3 separate regions of the Homo sapiens genome follow, and all the other regions are linked to region 3. The links are contacts of gene promoters, found by promoter capture Hi-C in blood cells and fetal thymus (Javierre and others, 2016). All regions are on one chromosome and are shown on one strand. The core of a region is centred on a gene start or on the middle of the fragment in contact, and the rest is flanking DNA. Distances in the headings are between cores, read along the strand shown. Region 1 overlaps CPED1 (cadherin like and PC-esterase domain containing 1). Region 2 overlaps CPED1 (cadherin like and PC-esterase domain containing 1). Region 3 holds the start of WNT16 (Wnt family member 16).

Region 1 (4,515 bases), core at 465-2,964, 70 kb after region 3:
CTGAGCCTAGTTAACAGGAACCCACTAGAACCTTCCCAAAGGGGAAGTTATATAGGAGTGCAGTAAGAGCTAATTGTCCATGAATCCAGGTAATGCCTGTTTACTGGAGAGCTTTCACATTGCTATAGATAAGGGAAATAAAAGTGAGGTAAGGAGGAGTCTTATTTGTTACATCTAGGTCCAGAGCCAAGCATAACCCACATATTTAGAAAGCTCTACAGTGATACTGATGAGCCCTAAGGTCGAAAACCACTGATCTCCTAAGATAAACATGCATTTCTAAATGATGAAAGGGGTGGTTCAGTTGTAATATGAAGCTGAGACTGGTCAGACGGCTAATGATATTTAGGTCATGATGAAAAACTAGCTCAACAAAGCATCCCTCTGTGAAATGTGATGCGGTTACAATAAATGTTTTCCAATTGTGCATTTTAATTAAGTTGGATGTAGATGAGCAGCCAAATTGATGTTTGCAGTCAAAAACAAATATAAGATTGACACTTAGGCAAATCACTCTCAGACATAAAATTTGGCAAAAAAAAAAAAAAAAAAAAAAAAACGCGAAGCAAGCAACTCTACAACATCACCTAGGCATAGCTCTTCTAGCTGCTTGGAACAAAATTATTTGTCTACATTGCCATTATCTCTGGATTGTTGTAGTATTTATTGAATGCGAAGGAGGGCATCATGTGTAAGTCATCATTTCCTGGTAAGAGTGAGGTGCACTCTTTCCTTATATCTGACTGATTTACTGAAACTGACAGGCAATAATGAATTACGTAACCATAATGGAATTCACATATTAGTCAGAACATATTATTTTAAATTAGCCACACTTTGAAAATTTAAACACCTTTAAGTCCAAGACACTACTTAACATGAAAACATTACTTAAAAATTTAAGTTACATTCCCTGTTTTAACAGCTGAGTTTAAGTACTTTTTGTAAATATTGCCTTTTTATATTTCCCTTTCTTAATTGCACCCTCCTCTCAGATATTTTATTACTGGCTTAAATTCTGAACTGTTTTCCACTGACAAACAAAATAAAGGCTTGTTTAATTCAGTTAGGTCAGGCTTCTAAGTTTTTGCAGTTGTAAATTTGATTGTCATATTTCTAAACTATTTCCTACATATTTTACCCTGTGATTACAAAATTATGTTCTCATAATTTCTATGTGTTCCATTCAGCATTTATAAAGAGGTAGGTATCTATTTAAAGAAATGTGTGAACATATCATTTAATACATAGCTTGCTTTTTTTCAATTGATTTTCCTTTAATTCAACACAATTGTATATCACAAAACCTATGTACATATACAAAAACTTGTAAGTGAAATAAATCTATAAATGAAATTATTTGGATACATTTAGAGTTCAAAAGTGTCCTATATTCACCTAATGTTCAGAGGGGGAAAACTTGTTCCAACTTTCCACCCAAGATCAGCCTCCTGTTCATGTTGCTGCAATGAAGACAAATGACTGAGGTATATGAAGTATGATCCTGCTCACAGGCCATTAAGTGTGGTTAGATTCCTGGTCAAAATTACTAGAAGCTTGAGCACCTTTTCAGATCTCCACTGATTTGTGTCTTGTTCCTTCCCTATAGGCAGGTGGGCTTCTATTTGCAAGTACAGTCTTGGCATTCATCAATGTACAACAGTAGGAAAAAGATATAAAAGGTCACAATAACAACATAAGGAAATTCAGCTGAGAGAAATTACTACTTAGAGATTCTAAAGAAAGCAGAGCACTATTTGAAGGCCTAACTTTCTAATAGTTCTCAATGCCCTGGCCAAATTCCATTGCCTTTTAATTCAATTCTTCAGAGAGAGACAATTCACTTTAATATGTTCCCAAAGTAGAAGCTTGCTGTGATGTGATTAGCATTGAAAATAAAGTTTTTGTAGCACAATATTTTGAACTATTTATTCCTGGCAACAGTGAAACTTCTGGATTCTCACTGTTAAAAATTCGAATTTTACATATTAATTGAAAGTCTTCAGGAAGGCAACTATATTGTTAAAACTGTGTATTTAGGTACGTACACAATTTTACATAATCCAAGATATGTGAACTGGAGCACACTGAAGTGGGAACCTCAGAATCTTCTCTAGTGCCTTCTCATAGGTAGTTCCTGCCTTCTTAGCACTCCATTGTCTGTTCCTCCAGTAGAAAGCAAATCAAAGACAGCAGCATAAGGCTTGAGTGATAGGATTCTCAGAGTAGATGCTTTTGCAAAAAATAAATATCCGTATTTTTCTAGTTCAATTAACTTCTTTCAAAGTAATGTGACTCATAGATTGCCTTTCACTGCAAACACCACTCTGCCTAGGCAATTTTCTTCTGGCAACTTTTCTAGATCTTTCCAGGCTGGATCCAGTGCCCACCTCTACTTTCTACTATTGCAATTATTGTGCTATATTGCAATGATTGTTTCTCTCATTTGTCTTCTTCCACTAGAAACTGAGCACCTTGAAGGATCATATATGTGCTCCTGGAACAGATATTTGGTTCAACAAACATTGAATGAATGAACAACATAATATCAAAAAAGTTGTAAAAAGTATTCAGAAGTTAACTTTTTAAGTGTTCAGCTGGACTCTACTCTGTGGTAACATATTAGGGTAACTGATATTGCAACATTGCTGATATGGGGCAGCACAGTTAATCTGATGAGTTTAATATCTAAAAGAATCATTTCATCTGGTGGGATCAGAACTGTAGCTTAGGCTTCCTGATTGCCAGCCTGAGACTTTTCCTACTCCATTAATGTCCTGCTGTCCTTATGTATATGTGGAAGAAATTTCTGTATAATGTTGCTCAAATAATGTTACTTTCATTGAATATATAACATGGTAGGAAGAGAGGTAAAAAAGGTCAGTATATAATGTGTATAGAAAACAAAATATATTAGTTGTATTTCTATTTTTGTAACTGTTATGCTTTAACATTTATTTGTCTTTGGAATGGGTTGGAGATTATAGAACATTCTGGGTAGGATGAGAACTTATTTGTCTTAGTAATGAAAGAGAAAAATTACAGGATTGTTTTGTATATTTTTATCATTCTCATGGAAAGTAAGAAATAGATGTACCGGGAAAACCCTTTGCTCACCTACTCCTATTCATAAGTGAAGCTTTCTTAAAATAAGTGCTAGTCATAGTTGTATTTGTGAATGTTTACGCAATTATCTCTGTGTTGTGTGAAATATGAGTGTATACACCTGACTGTTTTTGGCTAACTCCTGTGATTCTGAATAAAAAAAAAATATCTTTCTCAGGCTCTCCCCTCTGCATTTCCACTGCCTCTGCCTTGGTTCTAATTTATACAACCTTTTCAAATACAGACTTTTAGATTAAGAAAACAGTGCTCACACACTGTAAAAATGAAAATCATACAGAAATATTTAAAAATATCTCTTCATGCTTAACCAACTATGCTTTACCACCCAAGCTGGCTTCATGGGCATGTGACCTGGACGGTCTTGCAGGGCCACATGCTTTGAAGGGTCTTGTGCTTGGTTCATTGCTCTTCTATTGTCTTTTTTTCCCCAAACTTCAACTTTTATTGCAGATATGGCGTATGTGTGCAGGTTTGCTGCATGAGTATATTGCATGATGCTGAGGTTTGAGATATGGATCCTGCTATGCAGATAGTGAGCACAGTACCCAATAGGTAATTTTTCTACCTATAGCCCCTCCCTTTCGTCCCCAGTAGTCTGTAGCATCTATTGTTCCCATGTTTATGTCCATGTCTGCTTAATGTTTAGCTCTCACTTACAAGTGAGAAAATGTAGTATTTTATTTTCTGTTCCTGTGTTAATTTGCTTAGAATTATGGCCTCCAGCTGCATTCATGTTTCTGCAAAGGATGCGATTTTGCTCTTTTTATGACTGTGTAGTATTCCATGGAATGTATATATGTACCACATTTTCTTTATCCAGTTCACCATTGAAGGGCACCTAGGTTGATTCCATGTCTTTGCTATTGTGAATAGTGTGGTGATGAACATACGAGTGCATGCGTCTTTTTGGCAGAACAATTTATTTCCTTTGGGAAGGAAATAAATAAATAAATATACCCAGTAATGGGTTTGCTGGGTCAAATAATAGCTCAGTTTTAAGTTCTTTGAGAAATCTCCAAACTGCTTTCCACAGTGGCTGAACTAATTAACATTCCCACCAACAGTGTATAAGTGTTCTTTTTGCTCTGCAGCCTCTCCAGCATCCGTTGTTTTTTGACTTTTCAGTAATAGCCATTCTGACTGGTATGAAATGGTATCTTATTGCTGTTTTCTTTTAGGATTTTTATAGCTTGAGGTCTTACATTTAAATCTTTAATACATCTTGAAATAATTTTTGTATATGGTGAAAAGTAAGGGTCCGGTTTCATTCTTCTGCATATGTCTAGCCAGTTATCCCAGCACCATTTATTGAATAAAGAGCCTTTCACCATTGCTTGCTTTCACTGGCCTTGTTGAAGATCAGATGGTTGTAGATATGCAGCTTTATCT
Region 2 (4,431 bases), core at 1,841-4,340, 86 kb after region 3:
TGGTGGCAGGCGCCTGTAATCCCAGCTACTCGGGAGGCTGAGGCAGGAGACGCGCTTGAACCTAGGAGGTGGAGGTTGCATTGAGCTGAGATCACGCCATTGCACTCCAGCCTGGGTGACAGTGTGAGACAAAAAAAAAAAAAATGCCTGTGGAGTAGCCACACCCATACATGTATGATCATCAGTGAATTACTCAATCTCTCTGAGCTTTACTTATCTTAAGCAGAAAAAAGATATGATAATATCTACCTTAGCTGCAATTAGGAATAAATACACTTTTAATTTATTCATTTACTTGATAAATATTTATTAAGTTACTATTCTGCGTCAAAAATTATGCTCAACAATGAGATTATGGCGGTGGATTAAACACATTCCCTGCCCTTTTGAAGCTTACAGTCTGGTGGGATTTAAAGTGTAACAAATTTAGCAAGAAACACAGTTTCTTGCACAAAATCAATGCTCAATTAATAACACTGCAACATAAGTTCCTAAATGATTTTCTTCCCTTCTTTTTTTAAAAAAAGGAACTAACACTACTGATTGATCTTTAGAGACATTCTCAATCATGAAAATTGGAACATTTATATTGAAATCACCATGAAGAAGATGTCCATCTTTCTGTCCTGCCCCTCAGCTCCTGTTATTCTTCTTTAACTATTTGCTAGTAAATTGGCATACCTTCTGCCCAGGCCTTTTTTTCTATGTGTTTTAATAGAGCTTTGTGAAAATCAGCTTTTGAAATCAGTCTTGCTCATGTGTGAGAGCTTACAAACTGTATAAGGAAATGTCCATCTAATAAAAAGCACTTTGAAAATTGGGTTAAGGATTACTTACTTGATGTTAACCAAGCATCTCAGTCTATGTGCCCATTTTGCATATCCGAGAGTTCTGCCAGACTCTACCTAGTCAGAGCATGCCTAGCAAGAAGACACTGCATGTCCCAGAAATCAGCTTAGAAGCCTCACTAAAGGAAAAATCAGCCTAGTGAGGTCCATGTGAGACCTGCCCAGGAATATGAAAGAAGATCAGTAAGGTTAGTGCGTAAAAACAATCCCATGCACTTGGAAAGCTCTAGAAGTGAGTCTCACATGCAGGACCTTTTGATTTCCTGTGCTGAGCTGCAGATGTCTGTTTTCACAGCAGTGCCTGCCAGAGCTGCAGTTGACAAGGCCAGCTGCTCTCAACTGCCAACTGTCAGTTGACGTGGCAAGCTCCTACCAATTTGTGCTGAGAAAACAGCATGGAATCGGGTCAGCATAGGACAAGACTTTAATATCCTCCATCTGTCAAACAGAGTTACTTGGAGAAAACTGAACATTTGGAGCGGGAATTGTTCAGGCTATTCTATGATAACATCTATACATGATTCAAAAAGCCATATTGCATTCAGTTAGTTTTCCTCTGCTGTGAGACAGCAGGAATTGGTCTAGTAGATACAACTATACGATTTTTAGTACTTCAGGTGGCATACATTAAAGGCTTCCCCCACTAGATCCAGAACCTACCTTCCTTCCTCCCAGGCACTGCTGGAGTTGAGGCTTAGTTAGGACACCATATTGGCAGTTGTGGGGCTGCCAGGTTATTTCTCTCCAGTCACACGTCCTGTTGTCCGAACAACTAAGGCAAGGCACAATCCACTGGCCTGGAATAGATGGCAAAACTTTCTTTGGTTCTGTTTCTGCTGGTGAAGTTTGTAAGTAACTTTAAAATTCAGCTATGGCACACCATTTCAGAAATTATAGTAAGACCATCCTTATCCTTTAAATCTAGTGGAATAATGAAGGCATGGCTTCCTGCCAACCAAATAGAATAGCAACATTAAGTAATGTTCTGAAATAACACATTTCATGCTAAAATCAAGTATGAGCTCTGTTCCATGAAACCTTATACTTATTAAAAATCTAAGTATTACTCAATCATTACCTATTTTTAAACAGTACATTGAACACTTCAGTAAGACCAAAGCATTAATAGACTGGGAGCCCCACAAATTGGCAGTTAGCCTCAAATATTTATTAGCCTAACACATGCATAGGTTCTCTGTCCATAAGTATAATAGATCTATTCCCTGCTCTCAAGGGATTTAAGATACAAGAGAACTACTTCAGTATGATGATAATTTATTATTTTGAAGATTAGTTATTTTTCTTTGATTTGATTGATGGCCTTTTTCGTGTGAATGTCTTCACCTCTTTCTAGCTGTTGCCTGAATTTCTTCATCTGTTAGATGAGGTGTGTACAGTTCTTCTCACATGATTGGTGTAACAATGTAATGGAATAATGTATTTAAGACACATTTGCAATATTGTATTCATCTTTTGTTACTAACAGAGTTCAGGTAGAAAGTAGGTCCCAAGCTTTAGCAAATGTTTATAAAATAAATGAATATTCTCTATGCATTTAAGATCTTTCCTGTTTTACTGATAAAACAACATTCATGCAAAACACTTCAGCTTTTAGTGTGAGTGGATACATTAATAATGTGGTAGAAAAATATAATTTTTTTGTTTTTTTTTCCTTGTTCATCGTTTCAGGAATTGAGTGTGAACATAGCACATCATATGAACAAATATGGAGTGGTTATTTCTCTCCTTGTTGGAGAACATATGCAATTATTTCTCTGATAATCACTCTCCTTACCCTAAATATCTTGCTTATGTTACTAGTATATGTTTACCCTTCAAAACTGAGGAGCTAAATATCACCCAGATAGTTCTTGAGTTAGAAAGGAAAAAACTTAAAAACTTTGTCCATTCTGGCTTTGATTAGTGGTACTGCTAATAATGGTATCTGGTGTTATATTAATTTTAGGGGAAAGGATTTCTGTTTTTAGGAGATGAATATAGTGCATTTTATATTCATGACTTCAGGGATGTTAGAATTGTGAATGTGTTTGTGTATGTGGAAATAGTTATTAATATAAAATATGAAAGATGATATAGTTTATGGCTCTTACTGATTGAACACAGAAAGAGAAAGAAATGTAGGTATATTAAGAGAGAGAAACTGGAAGAGATAAAAGAAAATCGGAGGGAAAGGAGATGAGAAAAGTATGAACTCCAGGAAAGGAAAGAAAATATACAATAACTTTGAGGGGTACAATGTCAACTGGAAGAGAAATACCAAATTTTCAAAAGGAATGCAGAGTCATTTGTTCTTCTTACCACCATTTTTTCCTTTTCTTTGATTTTTACATGTAATGAGGATTACAGAAAACTGCTTTATTAAATGTCTATCTACTAAATACTTTCTATGCAATTTCAGGAATGATAAATTAACCTTTATGTCTCCATATACATATGACTCTCCAGAAGGATTTAAGTTTAATACATTAAGTATATACTCTGTTGAAGTGTTAGGCATTATTGGTGTTAAAATATCATAATAATTTTTAAAGAATAGTTGACATTTTTCAGTACCTCCCAAATGCTAGGAATATTCTGAAAACTTTAATTTATCAACATATTTAAACATCAACAACCCTGTTATCATCTCCTTAACCAGGGCTCAGGAACTTGTCTGAGATCCTCTAGTTAGTAAGTAGTAGAACTAGGATTTGAGCAGGGCAGTCAGCTCCAGAGTCCATGCTCTTAACTATAATGCTAAACCTCAAAAATTTATACTCAGGTTAGAAGATTATAATTTATACGTAATATAGAATAACTATAGCGTAAAAACAAGTAATGCATAATGGAGTAAAAATATCTGTGTGGTAAAGAGTTGGGGCTTTGGAGAGCATGCACACCTGGGCTCTATCTCCAACTGGCCCTGCGGACCTCAACATTGACTACATATTAGAGTCACTTGGAAAGCTTTTAAAAATTCCCACACCCAGATTGTACCCCAGACATTGAATCAGAATCAATGGGGATGGGGCTCAGAAATCAGTATTTTTTAATGCTTCTTTGGTGATTCCAATATGCTGCCAAGGATAAAACTCACTGTTTAAATTAGACAAATTACTTAATCTTTTCATGATTAAATTTACTTCTCCACAAGGAAAATATGTATAACACCTGCCATAGTGCCTGATTACCTAATAGTCAACATATATATTTTATGTATTTTCCCACCTCTACTCTCAGTGAGCCACAATTGTTCCAAATAGAGAAAGAGTCATGGAGGTCAGAGTTTTCTGGAAGGGTCCATGAAGCAGATAATATGTGAACAGGCCTTTAGGGACAGATAAGATTTGAAGACCTGGAAGGAGTGGTACTTTAGGTACAGTGAAGAGATGGGCCTGACAGGAGTGAGCCAGAAGAACTGACTGCATATCTTGGAGAAAACGAGGGTCTGCTATGTGAAAGATGTTTCTAAAGTTTCTGGTTGTAGAGAATGGCCGTACTGCTAAAAGAAACAACAGAAAATTTAGGAGAGATGCTGGTTTTTGAATGGCAAAATAAAGATTATCTTCCTCAAAAGTGCTTA
Region 3 (4,838 bases), core at 909-3,408:
AAGCAATTAGTAAACGGTACCGTATATTTTCACATTAAAGATTAGTCTCACATTAACATGAAACAGTTAAACATTTTATATAGTATTAGCTACTCCTCTTACAGTCTTAAAGGCAATGAAAGGTAAGATAATTAAAATGTCACTAGCAAAAACATAATTCTATTAAAAATATTGAATATTGAAAATTATGCATTTAGCACACCTGCAGTAGAGTTTGAGCTAAAATCTTTGAAAATTAAAGTCCATTAAAACATTAATAACATGGACTAGAAGGGAATCAGCAGGCGACTTTTTTTTTTTCTTTCCAGATGTTTAGTTTGGAGTAGAAACAGTTTCATGCCCGCTGTCCAATAAACCTTTTCAACAGCTGATGCATTTCAGCAACTGTGAAAAACACATCTATTTTTTTTCTTTCTGTCTCTTTTTTTTTTTTTTTTTTTTTTCTCTCTACGGGGACCAGGGCTCCTTCGGAAGGGCGTGCCGGCCAGAACGCCGCGGGGGAGGTGCGCGGCTCGGCGGGGGTGCGCGCAGGGACTGCGTGGACAAGGGTCAAAGGCGGAGGGGGAACGGAAATGAACATGAAAAACGACAGCGCATCCTTCAGCGCCCCAGTCCTAACATTCTTTGGATCTGTTGATATTCCAGGAACAATCCTGGCTCCCTGTACCTTTATCCTTACCAAGTCACTACGCACGTGGAAGTGGAACTTTGTTTTCCTGCAGCTTCCCGCGCCGCGGGAGTGCGCCGAGGAGGGAAAGATAGAAAAGCCAAAGAAACGAGAAGCGCACAAGTGGTCCTGCTCAGGTTAGCCGCACGTTGGGTGGTCGCGGACAGTCGCTTTAAAAGTCACCATTATTCTGTCAACTCGGTGCTCCTAGGAGCCAATAAAGGTGGGGCTTCGCTGCAATTAGCCACTTGTCCGGGGTTTGGTGCGCAGCGGAGTTGGTTAAATCAAAGCAGATGCGGCAGCCGCATTCCCCGCTGCCGACATCATGTTTCTCCAGCTGGTCACCCACGTAGGGGGGCGCTACGGGGTCCGAGGGGGTCGGCGGGGTAGGAGAATTAGAGTTTTTTTTCCAACTCTGGCGGGGCACCGCAGGAAAGAGGAAGAGCTCCAGCCCCTAGAGCTCCGCTCTGGAACTGGGGAGTCACCTCCCTCCAGGCTCGCACCTGCTCCCCAGGTCTGGCCTTTGTAGCTCTCAATCCCCGTGCACTAAAGGGCTTCTTCTGGAACTTAGAGAGCTACAGGACCACGTAGCACTATTTACTTTATTTGCAGGAACCGGTGGAGGAGTTGTCGCCTTCCGTCCCCCACCAACCCCTAAGGACCCAGGACTCACCGCTGCTCAGCTCGTAGCCAAAGAGGGGGCTGGCGCCCATCGGGGCGGTAGTGGCGGCGGCGGTGATCATGCAGTTCCATCTCTCGTGTCTGAACTGGCTCCCGCACTCCTGAATGCCCAGCCGGGCGCCCTCTCGGATGCTCGGCAGCAGGTACGGTTTCCTCTTGCACAGCTCCTTCTGGCGGCTGTTCAGCGGCAAATTGGCGCAGCCCAGCTTCTCTGGAACCCCGAAGGAGGCAATGCCCAACCACCTGTAAGACACGGCCGCCCGTAGCGTTAAGCCGCTCCCCAATTCCAGATGTTTTCCGAAAAATTAGGTCACTCGTCTAAGGGTCCCCGCCCTTCTCCCCCAGCCTCAGTTGAAAGTTCCCTAGGATTGGGCACCCCTTTTGCCACCTACCCGATGCTTCCCTGCCACCTCCATACTCACATCCAGTTTCCTTGGGCTCCGTAGGGGAACAGCACGAGCAGGGCTGCCCACAGCGCGCACAAGCGGGCCAGTCCCAGGAGCGCCGCCCTGTCCATCGCCCCCGCATGGAGTCCCCCAGCCCAGCCGCTCCTCTTTTGCACCCCCTCCCCAGAGGCCCTTCGGGCCGCAGGTCAGTTGTCCAGCACCAAGTTATCCCTCGCCCTCTTCCTCCTTGCATACAACATTAAAAGGCCAGCAGTGATAGGGACTCTCAGCAGCTTCCCCCTCGTTTGCAGGGAGCTGTAGGAGAGATGGAGAGAGCAGCCTGGGGATCTCCTCCTGCGCAGGGGTGGAGATGTGCAGGAGATGCGGGAGCGCCCCTCGCATTCCTAGGTGAGAAACTTCTGTTGATGTATCCGCGTCTCCATCGCCCCCGGCCTCTCCTCCCATCTCCTCCCCCTGGCCGCGCCTGGAGCCTGATTGGCTGAGCAGCGGCCCCGCATCTCATCATCTCGGGACCTCAGGCTCTTATTGGTGGAGAGCGGCTCCGCGGGGGGCGCTCCGGGCACTGGCCTCAGGGACAGCGTGTCCAGACCTGGGTGTGTCATGACCTTTCCTGCTGTCACAGTCTCCTTAGAACGGGTCGTTGTGGGGTTGATTCAACCCGAAGACTAACAGGACGCTCTGTCTTAGCAACCTTGGGGGAAAGCGTGGGTTTGATGAGTCCCACCCATCCCACCAACATCTGGGTTACCCTCTGGGTGTAGTGGCTGGAAAATGTCACTGACCTTTTTTTCTTCTCCTTCACCTCACAGGAGAATAATCTTTTTGAGTCAGAGTTGGTACCGAACAAATTAACCTTCCAGTCCCCTGCTTGAGGTCCCACTGTCAGGAGACTTTAGAGAGTGGGTGAAGTGCTGTCAGGCTTACAATCACTGTCATTTATGTATGCATTTATTTTGAGCGAAAGAGAAGATTCCAGTCTAGCATCTCATCTGCCATATTTCAATCGTGCTCTGTGATTTCCTTTTCCCTATTTGTCTTATTTCCTGCAGTCCCTGAGAACGCTGTAAGTCCCCTGCAGAAGATGGGGACAAAGAAAGTGAGAGGTTTCTGGAGAGTTCTAGAGTACATGAGAGATGTGCTCTGATCTTTTTCTCCAGTCCTACCTTACGATTCTCATGGTGGGAGGGTCCCTGCCCTTCTCCCCCAACCTCAGTTGAAAGTTCGCTAGGATTGGGCACCCCTTTGCCACCTACCCGATGCGTCCCTGCAGGACAGGGCTACACATGGAAGACACATTTTTAAAAACGTACTTATTAAATACCTGCTGTGTGCCTAGTCCTGTGGGAATTTATAAAGACAAGCTCTCTTCCCACAACTGTACAAATAAACCATACACAAGTGTAAAAGAAAATACGTTTAGATGATCAGTAAGAGAGATTAAAGAATCTAGCAGGGTACTCCCTGGAGCCGAAGATAGTTCAGAAGCAGGAAGTGTTCCAGTTACTGGCAGATTTGGAAGGTTAGTTAATCAGTGTTTTGTAGGATGGAAGGTCTCCGAGAGTTATCTGAAGGCAAGTGCAACGTGTTTAGCTGTGGTATTGGGAAAGCCTGCCTCACCTAATTAGACACAAGAAATGTTTCTAAGAAGCATTATCTGTCCTTAGAGATCTTTTGAAGTGTTAATACATTCCCATGGTGGACGTATCAGCTCAGTGGGTACCCAAAGCCAAAATTACTTAAATAAAGGATTTGGGGCCAGGTGCAGTGGCTCACACCTGTAATCCCAGCACTTTTGGAGGCCAAGATGGGCGGATCACCAGAGGTCAGGAGTTCAAGACCAGCATGGCCAACATGGTGAAACCCTGTCCCTGCTAAAAATACAAAATTATTTGGGTGTGGTGGTGCATGCCTGTAATCCCAGCTACTCGGGAGGCTAAGACAGGAGAATTGCTTGAACCTAGGAGGTGGAGGTTGCAGTGAGTTGAGATAGCGCCACTGCACTCCAGCCTATGGCACACAGTGAGACTCCGACTCAAAAAAAAAAAAAAAAAAAGGATTAGATAGCATTAGCTGCTTATCTCCTATATCAATCAGTGAGCAATAAAAGCTCACTGAAATTTTCATCCTATCCCATTCACTCCCTTATCCAACAAATGTTTATTGAGTGTACACTATGTACCAGGTTCTAAAGCCACATTTTAAAGAGTCGAGGAGTCAAGTTGATGATAGGATGTAGATACTGATCCAGAAATATTTTGGCTAACGGCTAGTGGCCTCTCTGAAAGTCAGAGCCTTCATCCAAGCTCACTTTATTCTGTGAGCTTCTCCAAGAGGGACAATGGCGGATTCATTGCTGTACCCCTGCCATTGGGCCTAGTACATAAGATCCTGTTTTTGAACAAAATTTATTGAGTGAATTAACAATGAGGAACATCCTGAGTGGATATGTAAGAGGCCTAAATGCTGGAACTACAGTTTTTACTTCATTTCAAGGGGAATTGGAAGTGGGGAGGCAATCTCCGGGTTGGGGGTGCTGGACAATATCCATACCTTAGGCTGATTTTAGGGCCAACGGTGGTAGATGTTTTAAAGAGGTGTTTGATTTTTTAAAAAATCAAAAACATATATTGAGTCTCTGTTATGGGTTAGAAAGTGGGGATAGCACTTACTCAAATGATCATGGAATTCACAGTCTACTTGGCAAGACAGACAAGGGAGCATGCAGCTATAATACGTGCAATAAATGTACAAAGTAGAGTGTGCTGTGAACACACAAAGGAAGATTACTTATTTCAGTCTTGGGGATCAGAGTGGGGAGGAGACACTTGAATGTTACCTTCATTATTATTCTGGGAATCTAGCACCATCTACGCATCCAGATAAAGCCTTTGGGGTGCACTCAGAGGGTATTCTGTCCTGAGAGTCAGAGACCACTGTGTCAAACATTTTCAAACACAAGACACAATTTTAGGGCGTGAGTGGTCTTGCATCTCTTTTGTATGGGCTAGAGCCTTAGGGGTCATTCTGTCCATATCTCCAAAACAAAGGAGACATATTTCTAGGAGCTGACCCAGCTGAGGAAG

What was found. The method cuts DNA at HindIII sites, captures the fragments that hold promoters and counts their contacts. A CHiCAGO score of 5 or more calls a contact.
Region 1: a contact is called between a fragment that was not itself captured here and the fragment with the promoter of WNT16 in region 3, in 1 of 17 cell types (total B cells). The highest score is 5.1, in total B cells.
Region 2: a contact is called between a fragment that was not itself captured here and the fragment with the promoter of WNT16 in region 3, in 1 of 17 cell types (total B cells). The highest score is 6.3, in total B cells.

What each region holds. Positions count from the first base shown.
Region 1 is chr7:121,256,268-121,260,782 of GRCh38, reverse strand. The region is part of intron 18 of CPED1 (cadherin like and PC-esterase domain containing 1); the gene reads right to left. All of the region lies in intron 1 of LOC124901735 (a long non-coding RNA gene), which reads left to right. Among named protein-coding and RNA genes, the nearest start is that of WNT16, 70 kb to the left of the region's middle. The HindIII fragment of the contact is 312 bases long and covers 1,559-1,870 here.
Region 2 is chr7:121,241,416-121,245,846 of GRCh38, reverse strand. CPED1 (cadherin like and PC-esterase domain containing 1) reads right to left here. Exons shown (of 23, transcript NM_024913.5): 18 at 1,509-1,645. The region is part of intron 1 of LOC124901735 (a long non-coding RNA gene); the gene reads left to right. Among named protein-coding and RNA genes, the nearest start is that of WNT16, 85 kb to the left of the region's middle. The HindIII fragment of the contact is 1,455 bases long and covers 2,363-3,817 here.
Region 3 is chr7:121,326,320-121,331,157 of GRCh38, reverse strand. It overlaps WNT16 (Wnt family member 16), which reads right to left and starts at 2,158. Exons shown (of 4, transcript NM_057168.2): 1 at 1,771-2,158; 2 at 1,341-1,591. The coding sequence starts at 1,865. The HindIII fragment of the contact is 8,913 bases long and covers 1-4,838 here.